Linked DNA regions of Homo sapiens: regions 1 and 2 are each linked to region 3. The links are contacts of gene promoters, found by promoter capture Hi-C in human tissues and cell types (Jung and others, 2019). All regions are on one chromosome and are shown on one strand. Each heading gives the region's core, a stretch centred on a gene start or on the middle of the fragment in contact. The rest is flanking DNA. Distances are from core to core; before and after follow the strand shown.

Region 1 (2,736 bases), core at 192-2,691, 190 kb after region 3:
AAAAGTGCTGGGATTACAGGCGTGACCCACCGCACCCAGCCTCCAGATCCGTTCTGGAATTGGAGCTGCAAGACGTGTGAAGGGGCTGGATACAAGGGCTTGGGGGGACAGGGAGAAGGATGACTCCTGGAGTTTCGGCTGAGCTAGGTCAATGCAGGTGCTGTTGTGGATAAGGGGCTTGGGCAGTTCACCTTGGGTGTAGGTTCACCCTGAGCTGGTTCTTCCATGCTTTCCTGGTGCTATGGACCTCGCCTTAACAGCACTTTGTACAGCTGTAACTTCACATCTATCTGTGTGATTGGTGTCTGTCTCTACCACTTAACAAGATGCTTCTTGAGGACAGGGATGGTCAGCTGTTTTTCTCACTTCAGTATCCCCAGTACCCAGCCAGGGCCTGATGTAGCAGGCTCTCAATAAATGCAGAATGACTGAATGGAAGGGCAAATTGGTGGTCCATGTTAGTGCTACAAGAAAAAGACCTATGAGCAGACTTTGTAGGCATATGGATTGTGCTTTATTTATGAAGATGTGGCATACCTCTCACATTGCATTCTTTCAGTCTGAGCCCTTGGGACAAATCACTCTCAGGCCACACCTCTGAGCTTCTTGTTGGTTTCACTGTGACCCATGTGGATTGGGCACCAGGTCTCACTTTCCTTTGTGTTTTGGCTGCTAAAAAGCCAGAGCCACAACTAAGCCCATTTCTAGCAAGAGTACAGGCTTTAGAGCATGGGGTATGGGTGTGGTCCTCACCCAAGCCTTGTTTTATCTTATTTTAATTTTCTCCTTTAACTCTATTTCTTCTGTTTTTCTTATGCTGTTGGATTTAATTTTTTGAGTTGCCTCAAAGGAATCAATTTTAAATAAGGTGGGATAAAGTAAATACTATGATTTTGTGAAATATTACTATATTGTGCAAATTTAAAACTTATTTTAAAAACTTACTTTACAGATGCCTCAACATCCCCACAAATAGGATATGAACATTCTGCCCAGGTTCTCCTTCTGGCCCTCCTCTTCTTCTTTTTTTTTTTTTGAGACGGAGTCTTGCTCTGTCACCAAGGCTGGAGTGCAGTGGCACGATCTTGGCTCACTGAAAACTGTGCCTCCCGGGTTCACGCCACTCTCCTGCCTCAGCCTCCTGAGTAGCTGGGACTACAGGCGCCTGCCACCACGCCCGGCTAATTTTTGTATTTTGTTTAGTAGAGACGGGGTATCACCATGTTACCAGGATGGTCTCGATCTCCTGACCACGTGATCTGCCCGCCTCGGCCTCCCAAAGTGCTGGGATTACAGGCGTGAGCCACTGCACCCGGCCCATTTCTTCTTTTTTTTCTTTCGAAACAGGGTCTCACTTTGTTGCCTAGGCTGGAGTGCAGTGGCCTGATTTTGGCTCACTGCAGCCTCGACCTCCAGGGTTCAAGTGATCCTCCTGCCTCAGCCCCCAAGTAGTTGGGACTACAGGTGTGTGCCACCACGCCTGGCTAATTTTTGTATTTTTTGTAGAGACAGGGTTTCACCATGTTGGCCAGGCTGATCTTTAACTCCTGGGCTCAAACGATCTGCTGCCTTGGCCTCCCAAAGTGCTGGGATTACAGGCGTGAGCCACGGTGCCCAGCCTCTGGTCTTCTTCTTCTATGACCTAATACCATTCAAACACATGGTAAATCCCCTCATGCCCTTTGCTTGTACTACCCTGAGCCCTAACAAAGGCACTTGCCCAGGGGTCCTCCCCTCTCCTTCCTTCCTTCTGTCCTCTCCCCCTTCTCCCTACCTGCTTGGTTGAGTGGCTTCCTTGGAGCTCCTCCCATATGGCCCCCTGTGTGGCATGCATGCCTCCTTCTCTAGAACATGTGAGTATAGTAAATCCTGTAATTTCATAAGCCTCTCTGAGCATAGTTTCTGTGGCTGTGTGCGAGTGATCCTTAAAGACTTCATAAAGTGGGCTGGGTGCAGTGGCTTGCGCCTGTAATCCCAGCACTTTAGGAGGCCAAGGCGGGAGGATTGCATGAGGCCAGGAGTTCAAGAAGCATAGGCAACATGGCAAGACCCCATCTCTACAAAATAAAAAAAAATTAGGCGGGCGTGGTGGTGCATGCCTGTAGTCCCAGCTACCCAGGGGGCTGAGGTGGGAAGATTAACTGAGCCTGGGAGTTTAAAGTTATTGTGAACTACAATCGCACCACTGCACTCCAGCCTGGGTGAAAGAGTAAGACCCTGCCTGTAAAAACAAGGACAAAAAAACCTCACAAGGGGAACATCTTTTTTACAACACAATTGGTGATGAGGATGGGATCATTCTAAACTCAGTGTGAAAGTCCTTGAGAGAGAGGCATATGAAATGAAAGGATTTATTATACTCACAGGTCCTACAGAAGGAGACCCACGGCCAAGTGCCTTCTTTGGGGCTCAGGGTGAAAGACACAAGCAAAAGGGGATCTCACTGATGTGTCTGAATGTCACTAGGTCAGAGTAGAGGAGGGCAAGAAAGGGAACTTGTCGCAGGGACCAGCCTTATCACACTGGCACCTGTTCACCTGGGCAAAGTGTTCATGGCCTATTTGTGGGATGTTGAGGCATCAGGAAAATATGAAGTTTTTTTGTTGTTGTTTTTTTTGAGACGAAGTCTCACTCTGTCACCCAGGCTGGAGTGCAGTGGCATGTTCTCGGCTCACCACAACCTCTGCCTCCTGGGTTCAAGCGATTCTCCTGCCTCAGCCTCCCAAGTAGCTGGGA
Region 2 (2,700 bases), core at 5-2,504, 250 kb before region 3:
CATTATGGCTTCAAGGGACTTCAGGACCCCCTTGCTGTCCTGCCATGTGCTCCGTGAACAAAGCTTTGTTCCACAGGGAGCAAAGCCCAAGCTAATGCACTAATCATTGCCAGCAGTTTCTGAGCATTTAACGATGGAATGAGCCCTTTGCTGAACCCTTACACATTATCTCATTAAACCTTGAAACAACCTAAGAGGCGGGTGGGTACAATTTTGGTCCCTAGTTTACAACGGATGAGAGATTATTTGCCTTGTCAAGGTCACATATAAGAAGTAGTAAAGTCTGGATTTAAACTGAGGACACTTGAATCTAGAGTCCGTGCTCTCAACCCTCTCAACCGTTATGCCAAGAATGTAGTTTCCCAGAGGGGAAATCCAGAGCCTGACATTTCCTTCCAATAGGTCACTAACTCATTCCAGAACTTCTCTGTCATGCAGGGCTTCTTAGGTGACATAGAGTGCAGTGTCTGGGCCTATGCATAGAGAGGGCATTAGAGGGAGGGCCCCTAAATCCCAATTGCCTAATTTTCTCCCCATTTTGGGGTTCCCAGATCCCGAAAGCCTGGCAGGAATCCCATGTCAGATCGTCTCCCACTAATTGGCTTAGCAAACCATGCTTATCTGGGTGAAGCTGGGGCCCACTGAGCTCAAGATTAGGAAAAGCAGGATTCATGGCTTACTGCTCTGCTGCCTACAGGGTCAGAGGGGACAGGGTTAGGACTTTAATTAGCTTAAGAACCCTGGGCAGTTTAACAGCTCAGAGAGTTTAAAGGGAAGGGAGGGATGAAGTTGCAGGTTGGTGTCCAGGCCACAGCCAGCTTCGTGCCCCGCCAGAGGATCTGTTTGCTGTTCCCTCAGAGTTCAATCTCTCTGTGCACAAAGATATTGTTCTGGCATGTCCCAAAGTAGCCAGTGTGTGGTGTAAAAGATAGAGCTAGGTTTGGGACTGATCACCTTTCCTCACTTCCTCAGTGGGTGACTTTTGGACAAGGTTCCTTATCTGATAAATGGGTATATCAATAGTCACCAGGGGGGAGGGTTTCAGAGTAACATGAGATCACATGCCTGAAACACTCACACAGGGCCTGTGGGGACACGGTAGGTGTGCAGTGTCTGTGTATGCTTTCTCCTCCTCTCTCTCTTCAGAGCTTCATTTTATGTTTAAATTAGTAATAAAATCTTCTGTGTGAAAAGACCTTATCAATTTGAAGAGCTAAACCAGAGGTTACAAAGAAGACAGGCTAATAAATATGTTTCCTTTGGTTGACACTATTTTTAAACATTTTAATTAGTAGTTAAATTTTGGAGAGTTCACGGAAAAATCCCAATTTCCCATTTCTCTTGAGAAATCAAGACTGGGTCCACGATTTCTCATGGCATGATCAGCTGGAGCTTCCCTTTTCCTCGGACACTACTTGCCCCTGAATGTCCTCTTGTCTGACACCCCTTGTATCTTATGGTCTTATGGTCTGTTACCTGCCTGGGTCCTCAAAGCATTTGAATTTTTAATTCAGGATTTTACAAGTCTAAGAGGTTGAAAAATATCTTCATGATTATAATTATTTTATTCAGAATTGAGGAAATGGGATCAGGAGGTGAGTGACTGCCTAGCCTCCCAGGTGTGATTCTGGAGGACTCAATCACACATCTCCCTCTTCATTACCCCAGGCCCCACCACTCAGAACATCTGTGGGAACATCTCACGTGGTAAGCAAATGTGCTGGGCCAACATTGCTTAATTTCTAGGAATGCCAGCCCCTGCAGCTTCTCTATACCTTCTCTGGGTTTTCCCTCCATTTATCCAGGCCCTTAGCCATTTTAGAATCCAAAGATTTTGGGGGCAAGGGCCCAGAGGCTTTTGCTTTGGCAATAGACCCAGAGTCAGAATTTCAGGAATGGGAAACTCTTAAGGTCATCACATTGAATCTCATTTCACACACAGGGAAACCGAGACCCAAAGATGGAAAGAGCCTTGCCCAAGGTCACCCAGCAAACTATAGTTACAAACTAGGATAAAGATGTCAGCCTCCTGACCAGACCACCCCCGAATCCAGCCTTTTCCCCACAATACACACTGTTCCCGTCCTCACCCACATAGTTCAACTCCCTGCCCCTCTTTTCACATTCTTATCTCAGTGCAACAGAAGCCCTGACTTTCTATCATACTGGAATCTTGGAATCTCAGATTCATACTTCTTTAAGCTTGAGGGACACTTTAGTGGCAGAATTACAAGGTGGATAAATTGAACTCAGGCTTTAAAGGCAGAGAGCCTGGAGTCTCAGCTCTTCAAGTTCCTAGCTGTGTGACCTTGGACAAGGATGCCCCCTCTCTGAGCCTCCATTCCCTCATCTGTCAAGTAGAAATTATAATGCTAACCACATGACAGGATGATTAGAAGGGGTACAGGAAATAAAGCAGGTAAAAAGGCAACCAGTAGGCTTGGCACAAAGTCAGTGTTTAATAAAATAATTGTTATAGAACTGTAAATTAGGGCTTTCATGTCTAAGTGAAATAGTACAGATATGATCAAAGGGAAAGATGGACAAATTAGAGCACATAGACTCTTTCTAAATTGTTACAGGATTGATACTGCTAGATCCAATTTTTTTAAAGGGAAGCTACGACTCTGGGTTTTTAAAATACTATGCAAGCCACACAAAACACTTCCACAAGCCACATTCAACCTAAGAGCTATTAGA
Region 3 (2,968 bases), core at 85-2,584:
GCTTAACCACAAGGCGATGCTTCTTCTATATATAAACTGACGGACGGATGAAATAGGCTGATTGACTGATGAGTGACTGACTGACTGACTGAATGAATAAATGGAAATGTGATTATAAATGTTGATTTTTTGCGCCTCCCGATTCCCCAGATCTACCGCGAGGGGGCGATCTCTCCCCGGTCCTGATGCCAGTCACTCAAGGCGCGCACTCCCTTTGCGTCTCGGGCTCGCGCGCGTTGCCGCGGCACCGGAAGTGACTGAGCTTGCAAGTTCCCCTGTCTCTTCAGGGGAAACTGAGGCCGGCTTGTTCGGGAGAGACGGCGCGAGCAGTCAGCCAGGTAGGCCGGCAGCCAGGTAGGCCGGCCCGGGTCCGCGGCGCGGAACTCGGCCGCGAAGAGCTCTTGCGTCTGGAAGCTACCGGGCCGATGAAGGGGGATGTGGCCCCCCACGGCTCGCGGGGCTCGCAGGTGAGAGCGCCGCCTCCCCTGTGCGTGACAGCCGTTGCGCCCAATAGGAGCCTTCGCCGTCCCGCTTCCGTGCCGGCTGGGCTCGCTGATTGGCTGCGCTGGGGCGGACCGCCGGGGGCGAGGCCCCTCCTCTCAGGAAGGTCTAGGGGGCGCCCCCGGGGGAGGGCGGTTGCCTAGCAACGGGGCGGTGGCTCGGCGGGTACCCGGCCTAGTGAGCTCGAGAAGCCGCTAGGCCGCAGCCGGCCCACCCTGGGCTCCGGAGAGGTGCAGCCCCCGGCCCCGGAGCCCTCCCGGGGGCGCCAGAAAGCCACTTTGGGCCTGTCCCCAGGAAAACGTGGTCTCAGCTGTGGGGCCGTCGAGCAGGCCTCGACCCCTCTTCCTGACCTGAGGAGAGGCCCAGCGCCTCACCCTCACCCAGTCTTTGTGCAGGGCGCCGGCGGCCATTGTGTCCGGGCGGGGAATGGAGGACCCGGCAATCCCCAACTGCCACGTTCTGGGCCTTTGGGGAATTCAGAGCAAACCAGCGGCATTTGTTGGGGGTCTCCGGCCTTCAACATCACAGACAGGCCTGGGGGTGGCCTTCCCAAAGTCAGATTGCAGATCTGAGGCAGTTTCCCCCTCCCTGCGTCCCTCACTGAAACCTTGAACCCCATTGAGAAGTCCCTTTAGGGTTTCGGACGCCTCCACCTCACCCTGGGCTGGTGCTTAAATAGAAAAAAGAAAAACAAAAACCAACTAAATCCATACCAGCCACCTCCGGGAGAGTACTCCTGGCTCCCAGTAGGAGGCGGAGAGCCAAGGGGCGTGCAAGAGAGAGGGGGCTGGGCTCCCGGGTGGCAGGAGGCCGCGGCTGCGGAGCGGCCGCCCTCGATCCGGGCGATGGAGGAGGAAGCAAGCGAGGGGGCTGGTTCCTGAGCTTCGCAATTCCTGTGTCGCCTTCTGGGCTCCCAGCCTGCCGGGTCGCATGATCCCTCCGGCCGGAGCTGGTTTTTTTGCCAGCCACCGCGAGGCCGGCTGAGTTACCGGCATCCCCGCAGCCACCTCCTCTCCCGACCTGTGATACAAAAGATCTTCCGGGGGCTGCACCTGCCTGCCTTTGCCTAAGGCGGATTTGAATGTAGGTGGTGCGGGGGAGCGGGAGTGGGGCGGGGGGGACTGCCCAGGGAGTGACTTTCCGAGGAAGGCATTTCGGAGAAGACGGGGGTAGAAAAGGCTGGTGGGAGATTCAGAGTCCACTGGTGCTTTCGATTTGACTTAAGTGAAGTATCTTGGAACCTAGACCCAGACCTTCGTAAGACCCACAAAGAAACCAGTTCTGGTACCTGGAGGGGGAATGGAATTTTTAGGGTAAATGGCATGCATATTAATTATTTTTTTTTCCTGAAGCTCTTTCTCTCCCTTCAGAATCTTATCTTGGCTTTGGATCTTAGAAGAGAATCACTAACCAGAGACGAGACTCAGTGAGTGAGCAGGTGTTTTGGACAATGGACTGGTTGAGCCCATCCCTATTATAAAAATGTCTCAGAGCAACCGGGAGCTGGTGGTTGACTTTCTCTCCTACAAGCTTTCCCAGAAAGGATACAGCTGGAGTCAGTTTAGTGATGTGGAAGAGAACAGGACTGAGGCCCCAGAAGGGACTGAATCGGAGATGGAGACCCCCAGTGCCATCAATGGCAACCCATCCTGGCACCTGGCAGACAGCCCCGCGGTGAATGGAGCCACTGGCCACAGCAGCAGTTTGGATGCCCGGGAGGTGATCCCCATGGCAGCAGTAAAGCAAGCGCTGAGGGAGGCAGGCGACGAGTTTGAACTGCGGTACCGGCGGGCATTCAGTGACCTGACATCCCAGCTCCACATCACCCCAGGGACAGCATATCAGAGCTTTGAACAGGTAGTGAATGAACTCTTCCGGGATGGGGTAAACTGGGGTCGCATTGTGGCCTTTTTCTCCTTCGGCGGGGCACTGTGCGTGGAAAGCGTAGACAAGGAGATGCAGGTATTGGTGAGTCGGATCGCAGCTTGGATGGCCACTTACCTGAATGACCACCTAGAGCCTTGGATCCAGGAGAACGGCGGCTGGGTAAGAACCAAGCCCCTTGTGTGTCCCTTTTCTTTGGCCTCTGGTCAGAGATCCCCAACAGCCCTTCTTCTGTATCTCTTTCTGTTGTGTTGGGTGATTGTTGGAGACGTTGATAGTTGAGGAAACCTGACTGGCCTCATTTCACCACAAGAGGTTAACTCCTTGGAAATACAAATGACCCTGTGCTTCAGAGATCAGGCATCTTTCACCCTGGTCACCCCCATGACTCCACTATTCCATACTTGTGTTCCAGTTTCTCAGCAAAGAAAACTGTAGCCTATGTGTTCATTAAGTCCCAAACCTGTGAGGGTAGGAAGTTAGTTCGGTGTTTCCCTTACCTTATACAATGGTTCACACACAAAGGGGTGATGAGTATAATGCCTGGAGAAGATGATGAGCATCAATGACCCACAGACCTCTC

The links. The method cuts DNA at HindIII sites, captures the fragments that hold promoters and counts their contacts. A contact is called where the count stands out against the background at its distance.
Region 1: a contact is called between a fragment that was not itself captured here and the fragment with the promoter of BCL2L1 in region 3, in 1 of the 25 tissues and cell types used here (spleen).
Region 2: a fragment that was not itself captured here is called in contact with the fragment with the promoter of BCL2L1 in region 3 in 2 of the 25 tissues and cell types used here (dorsolateral prefrontal cortex and spleen).

The regions. Positions count from the first base shown.
Region 1 is chr20:31,533,386-31,536,121 of GRCh38, reverse strand. The region is part of intron 2 of HM13 (histocompatibility minor 13); the gene reads right to left. Among named protein-coding and RNA genes, the nearest start is that of MCTS2, 13 kb to the left of the region's middle. The HindIII fragment of the contact is 6,554 bases long and covers 1-2,736 here.
Region 2 is chr20:31,970,567-31,973,266 of GRCh38, reverse strand. All of the region lies in intron 1 of XKR7 (XK related 7), which reads right to left. Among named protein-coding and RNA genes, the nearest start is that of XKR7, 3.8 kb to the right of the region's middle. RefSeq lists enhancers at 190-689, 690-1,191 and a silencer at 807-1,101. The HindIII fragment of the contact is 4,685 bases long and covers 1-2,700 here.
Region 3 is chr20:31,721,234-31,724,201 of GRCh38, reverse strand. It overlaps BCL2L1 (BCL2 like 1), which reads left to right and starts at 1,334. Exons shown (of 3, transcript NM_138578.3): 1 at 1,334-1,584; 2 at 1,854-2,547. The coding sequence starts at 1,984. RefSeq lists enhancers at 236-435, 205-959, 966-1,025, 960-1,715 and silencers at 466-915, 1,122-1,416, 1,316-1,425, 1,476-1,595. The HindIII fragment of the contact is 4,180 bases long and covers 1-2,847 here.